Regions from separate parts of the Homo sapiens genome. Here region 2 is linked to region 1. The links are contacts of gene promoters, found by promoter capture Hi-C in human tissues and cell types (Jung and others, 2019). All regions are on one chromosome and are shown on one strand. Each heading gives the region's core, a stretch centred on a gene start or on the middle of the fragment in contact. The rest is flanking DNA. Distances are from core to core; before and after follow the strand shown. Region 1 holds the start of NOTCH3 (notch receptor 3). Region 2 overlaps AKAP8L (A-kinase anchoring protein 8 like).

Region 1 (3,325 bases), core at 504-3,003:
AGACTGGAAGTTCCTCCAGGGCTGGGCTCCAGGCCTCTCAGGGTCCCCATTCTTTCCACAGGAACAGAGGGAGCTGCAGGAAGCCTGTGCAGCATGACTGATTTGGGAAAAGGCAATTGATCAAGGCTGGGCGTGGTGGCTCACGCCTGTAATCCCAGCACTTTGGGAGGCTGAGGCGGGCGGATCACTTGAAGTCAGGAGTTCGAGACCAGCCTGGCCAACATGGCAAAACCCAGTCTCTACTAAAAAAATAGAAGCTGGGCGCGGTGGCTCACGCCTGTAATCCCAACACTTTGGGAGGCTGAGGCAGGCAGATCACGAGGTCAGGAGATCGAGACCATCCTGGCTGACACGGTGAAACCCCGTCTCTACTAAAAATACAAAAAAAAAATTAGCAGAGCATGGTGCCAGTTGCCTGTAGTCCCAGCTACTCGGACGGCTGAGGCAGGAGAATGGTGTGAACCCAGGAGGCGGAACTTGCAGTGAGCGGAGATCATGCCACTGCACTTCAGCCTGGGCAACAGAGCGAGACTCCGTCTCAAAAACAAACAAACAAGTAAACAAAAACCCAGAAAAAATTAGCCACGTATGGTGGCGCACACCTCTAATCCCAGCTACTTGGCAGATTGTGGGGGTGGGGGCTGAGGAAGGAGAATCGCTTGAACCTGGGAGGTAGAGCTTGCAGTGAGCCAAGATAGGGACACTGCACTCCAGCCTGGGTGACAGAGCGACACGCTGTCTCAAAAAAAAAAAAAAAAAGAAAAGAGAATTAATCAAATTGAGCCAGATAGGCTGAGGCCCAAAGCTGTGTGGGGTATGGGGGTGGGACTAGGGGGCTGGGGTGACCCTTTGAGAGTCACAGAGGAAGTGGGTTGCTTTCTGGGAGGGCTGAGAGCAAGAAGAGTTTGTGTGTGCATGTGTGAACACACACACATGCATGTGACTCCTAGTACGTGTCTGAGGTCTGAGGCTGCAAATGTAGTCCTAGGCTCCTGGCCTGGCTGAGTGAGTTTTAGCGGTTTTTTGTTTGTTTGTTTTGTTTGAGACAGGGTCTTACTCTGTTGCCCAGGCTGGAGCGCAGTGGTACGATTTCGGCTAAGTGCAACCTCAGCCTCCTGGGTTGAAGCGATTTTCCTGCTTCAGCCTCTCGAATAGCTGGGACTACAGGCGTGCGCCACCACGCTCAGCTAATTTTTGTATTTTCAGTAGAGTCCGGGTTTCACCATGTTGGCCAGGCTGGTCTCCAACTCTTGACCTCAAGTGATCCATCCACCTCTGCCTCTCAAAGTGCTGGGATTACAGGCCGGAGCCACCGCGCCCGGTCCGACTTTTAGGTTTGTGAATGTTTTAGATCAGAGTCCTGGGGAAGCTTGGTGCATGGGCTTGCATTTGTGCGTCCGTGGCTGTGGGTCCATGAGCCTCTCAGGACGTGACTGGCCTCAGTTTCCAGAGTTTCTGGGAGGCTGTGTTTTTTGTCCCGGCTCCAGAGGTGTCCGGCTCTGGGTGTGTACTGGGGGATGGGGATGGGGTGCGTGGGCGTTCACGAGGTTGGGTGTGCCCGCCACTCCGGGTTCTGCCCGCGTCTCACTGCATGCTCGGCCTGGGTTTCCGAGGGTCCGCGCGTCCCAGGCTGTGCGGGTGGAGGGTGGGCAGGGACCCCGGGAGGCCGGGCGGGGGGCGGGGGCGCGCTGGGCCGGCCCCGGGGCGGGGCGAGCCTTCGAGGGCTGGGGGCGGGGCGGCCCGGCCGCCTCACTTCGGCGAAGTTGGCGGCGCGGAGGCTGGCCCGGGACGCGCCCGGAGCCCAGGGAAGGAGGGAGGAGGGGAGGGTCGCGGCCGGCCGCCATGGGGCCGGGGGCCCGTGGCCGCCGCCGCCGCCGTCGCCCGATGTCGCCGCCACCGCCACCGCCACCCGTGCGGGCGCTGCCCCTGCTGCTGCTGCTAGCGGGGCCGGGGGCTGCAGGTGAGGGGCCGGGACCTGGCGGATGGGACGAGGGCGGCAGAGGGGGAGTGCAAGAACCCCCAAGGCCGGGGCTGGCGGGGGTTCATGGGAGGCAGGAACCAGGGTCGGGGAAGGGGCGCAGGAGCCCCGGGCTTCATGCCAGTCCTGGAGGACCCAGAGATTCAGAATGGGGAGGACCCCAGAGGCCCAAGGAACAGGGACCCTTGAGCGATTAGAGCTGAAGATGAAGGGACCCAGGAGTCCGAGACTGGGAGCTCGAGGTGCGGGGATCAGGGACTCGAGGTGGGGGGGTGCGTACAGAGTTCGGGACTCGTCCCCATCCAACTCACGCCTGGAGTCCTGGGTAGGTTATGATTGGGGGCCCAGGTACTTCTAGGCCGGGGACCTCTCGCACAAAAGCCCCCCCACCCCGCCCCCGACACCCCGGGCGGGCTGGGCCAGGCGGGGGGTGGGGAGGGGGCGCGAAGTTCTGGGAGCTCTGAACTCGGAGAAAACTTCCCAGGCCGGCGCGCAGCAAGACCCGGAGCCGGATTCCGAGCCGGAGCCTCGGCGGCGCGCGCGCCCCCTCCCCCGCCCGCAGCCCGCCTCTCTCCTCTGGCCGCGGGGACCCGGAGGCCCTGGGACCCCGCCCCTGCGCGGGGAGGGGAAGGGGCGAGGGCCCACGTGCTCCCCTTCGGCTCCAGCGCCCCCTCCCCGCGGCCAGAGCCCCTCCCCAGCCGGCCAGGGGCCCCCGCCCCTCCTCCTCTCCTCCCTCCCCTCCCCCGCTCGGGACAATGGCCGCGCCGTCTAGACACCCCCTCCCTCCGGCCGGCCTCGCGCTTTCTTTGCCAGACAAAGCGGGACCCGCGGCTGGGCCGGGGAGGGGGCTGCGGGGGCACCCCCCTCACCGCTACGGGAGGCCTGGTGGGCGGGGGAGGGGCGCGGGCCAAGGCCCCTGGCCAGGGGTCCCAGACGCCAGTGTGGGGCTTGGCGCTGGGCGGGGTGGGGGTTTCGGGAGTGAACGGCCTCCCCAGCCCAGCCCCGGGGCCCGGACGGGGCAGGACCAGGCAGGAGCCGCCGCCTCCGCCGGACCAGCGGCGCACACACATGGCCTGTGACACACTCGCTGGCACACATAGCTCTAGGTCACGTAACAGAGATGCAAACCTGCACACACACAGCACACTCGCAGACTTGCACACCTGGCTCAGGAAAGACACACCCAGCTGCACGCACACAGCTCACACATTGACATACATACACACACAAATATGATCACACAGGTGTGGCACACACGCTGCCTGCACACACTCAGACAGCACATAGATGAAGACTCAAGGACATGCTTACACCCAGCTCACACATGCAGATGGACAGACACAGCCA
Region 2 (3,325 bases), core at 418-2,917, 190 kb before region 1:
AAAAAAAAAGAACAAGCCATAGCAGCTGGTAACCGTAGAGAGGTTTGGAAGGATGATGAAAGATATTTAGAAGGCACCAGAAGTCATTGGTTTACAGAGATAATTTGAATACAGTCTAAATACTGTATTTTTTAGAATTCTAGACTGTAGAGATTAATGGAAAGCTTCTAATTATTGTTATCTTTGGTAACAGCTTTACTGAGATAGAATCACATACTGTACAATTCACGCATTTAAAGTATACAATTCAGTAGTCTTTGGGCTGGGCGTGGTGGCTCATGCCTGCAATCCCAGCACTTTGGGAAGCCAAGGTGGGAGGATCGCTTGAGGCTAGGAGTTCAAGGTTACAGTAAGTTATGATTGCACCACCACAGTCCAGACTGGGCAACAGAGCAAGACCCTGTCTCTAAAAAAACCAAACAAATGAAAAAAAAAACCAATTCATTGGTTTTTCACGTATTCACAGAATTCTGCAGTCATCAACCAGTCGATTACAGAATATTTTCATCACCTTAAAAAGAAACCCTTTAGCTATCAGCCCCCCCAACCTCTTGTCCTCCTCCAGCCTTAGGCAGCTACTAATCTATCTCTCTCTATTTGCTTATTCTAGACACTTCATATAAACAGAATCACATAATATGTGGTCTTCTGTGATTGGCTTCTTTCACTAAGCATGATGTTTTTGGGGTCCAGCCACATTGTAGCATGTATCAGAACTTCATTCCTTCATATGGCTTCATATTATTCCATTGTGTAGATAGATGTGGCACATTTTGTTTATTTATCTTTTTGGGTGTTTGGGTTGTTTTCACCTTTTGGCTATTATGAATAATGCTCTTAGAAACATTATTGTGCAAGTTTTTATGTGGACATATGTTTTCATTTTTCTTGAGTATATGACTAGGACTGGAATGTCTTGATCAAATAATAACACTTTAACTTGTGAGACTATTTTCCAAAGTGACTGTGCACCATTTTACATTTCCACCAGCAACATATAAGGGTCCTGATTTCTTCACATACTCACCAACACTTAGTTTCTGACTTTTTTTTTTTTTTTTTTTTGAGACAGAGATTCGCTCTTCTTGCCCAGGCTGGAGTGCAATGGCGCGATCTCGGCTCACCACAACCTCTGCCTCCCGGGTCCAAGCAATTCTCCTAGCTGGGATTACAGGCATGTGCCACCACGCCTGGCTAATTTTGTATTTTTAGTAGAGACGGGGTTTCTCCATGTTGGTCAGTCTGATCGCGAACTCCCGACCTCAGGTGATCCCCCTGTCTTGGCCTCCTAAAGTGGTGGGATTACAGGCATGAGCCACCGCGCCCGGCATTTTCTGACTTTTTGATCTAGTCATCCTAGTGGGTGGGAAGTAGTATCTCATTGTGGTTTTGATTTGCGTAGCCCTGATAACTGACTAATGGCATCTTTTCATGGGCTGGTTGGCCATTTTTGTATCTTTGGAGAAATGTCTATTCAAGTTCTTTGTGCATTTTTTAATTGTGTTGTCTTTTGTAGAGTTCTTTTTGTAAAGTCCCATATTTGATATGAGTTACAAATATTTTCACCCATTCTGTGGGTTTTTTCACCTTCTTGATGTGTCCTTTGTAGCACAATAGTTTTAATTTTTATAAAGTCCAATTTTCTTTTATTGCTTATGCTTTGGGTGTCATAACTAAGAATCTATTGATAAATCCAAGGTCACGAAGATTTACCCCTGTGTTTTCTTCTAAGAATTTTATGGTTTTAGCTTTTGCAGTTAGGTCTTTGTTCCATTTGAGTTAATTTATTTATATCGTATGAGGTAAGGTTCTAACTTTATTTTTTGCATCTAGATATTAAGTTGTTCCGGCACCATTTGAAAAAGAAATGAAAGAGACTGTTTTCCCCCCATTGAATGATCTTGGCATCTTTGTTGAAAGTCAGTTGACCATAGCTATTAAGTCTTCTAATCCATGAATATGGGATGTCTTTTCATTTACTGAGATCTAGTAAATGAATTAATTTCTTTCAAAGGTTTTGTAGTTTTCAGGGTGTAAGCTTTGTTCTTTATTGTTAAGATTTTTTTTTTTTTGAGACAGAGTTTTGCTCTTGTTGCCCAGGCTGGAATGCAGTGGTGCCATCTTGGCTCACTGCAACCTCCGCCTCCTGGGTTCAGGCAATTCTCCTGTCTCAGCCTCCTGAGTAGCTGGGATTACAGGCACGCACCACCACGCCCAGCTAATTTTTTGTATTTTTGGTAGACAGGGTTTCACCATGTTGGCGAGGCTGGTCTTGAACTCCTGACCTTGGGGGATCCACCCACCTCAGCCTCCCAAAGTGCTGGGATTACAGGCATGAGCCACCAGGCCCGGCCTGTTAAGATTATTTATAAGTATTTTATTCTTTCTGTTACTATTATGAATGGAATTGTTTTCTTGATATTTTTGGATTTTTTTTGCATGTGTATAAAAATACTTTTTTTTTTTATTCTTGAAATAGGGTCTCACTCTGTTGCCTAGGCTGGAGTGCAGTGGCACCATCATGACTCACTACAGCCTCCAACCTCCTGGGCTCAGGTAATCCTCCCACCTCAGCCTCCCAAGTAGCTGGGACTACAGGCATGTGCCACTATGCCCAGCTAATTTTTGTATTTTTTGTAGAGACAGGGTTTCACCATGTTGCCCAGGCTGGTCTCAAACTCCTGGGCTCAAGCAGTCCTCCTGCCTCAGCTTCCCAAAGTGCTGGGATTATAGGCATGAGCCACTGTGCTCAGCCAATATATTGATATTATACCCTACAACCTCACTGAACTATTTGTTTTTAATATTTCATAATTTTAATAATATTTCAGCTATGGCTAGGCATTATAGCTCATACCTGTAATCCAAACACTTTAGGAGGTGAAGGTGGGAGGATTGCTTCAGTCCAAGAGTTTGAGACCAGCATGGGCAACATAGTGAGACCCTGTCTGTATAAAAGAAACAAGTTAGCCAGGTGTGGCGGCAAGTGCCTGTAGTCCCCGCTACGCAGGAGGCTGAGGTAAGAGGATGGCTTGAGCCTATGAGGTTGAGGTTGCAGTGAGCTATGATCCTACCATGCACTCCAGCATGAGTGACAGAGCAAGACCCTGTCTCTAAAAAATAAAAACATAAGGCTGGGCGCAGTGGCTCATGCCTGTAATCCCAACACTTTGGGAGGCTGAGGCGGGAGATCACGAGGTCAGGAGATCCAGACCATCCTGGCTAACATGGTGAAACCCCGTCTCTACTAAAAATACAAAAAATTAGCCAGGTGTGGTGGCGGGCACCTGTAGTCCCAGCTACTTGGGAGGCTGAGGCAGGAGAA

What was found. Contacts are between HindIII fragments. The study calls those that stand out against the background at their distance.
Region 2: a fragment that was not itself captured here is called in contact with the fragment with the promoter of NOTCH3 in region 1 in 1 of the 25 tissues and cell types used here (IMR-90 fibroblasts).

Annotation. Positions count from the first base shown.
Region 1 is chr19:15,199,423-15,202,747 of GRCh38, reverse strand. It overlaps NOTCH3 (notch receptor 3), which reads left to right and starts at 1,753. Exons shown (of 33, transcript NM_000435.3): 1 at 1,753-1,960. The coding sequence starts at 1,843. RefSeq lists enhancers at 869-1,368, 1,369-1,870 and a silencer at 2,457-2,683. The HindIII fragment of the contact is 7,500 bases long and covers 1-3,325 here.
Region 2 is chr19:15,391,644-15,394,968 of GRCh38, reverse strand. The region is part of intron 12 of AKAP8L (A-kinase anchoring protein 8 like); the gene reads left to right. Among named protein-coding and RNA genes, the nearest start is that of AKAP8, 14 kb to the right of the region's middle. The HindIII fragment of the contact is 4,231 bases long and covers 1-3,325 here.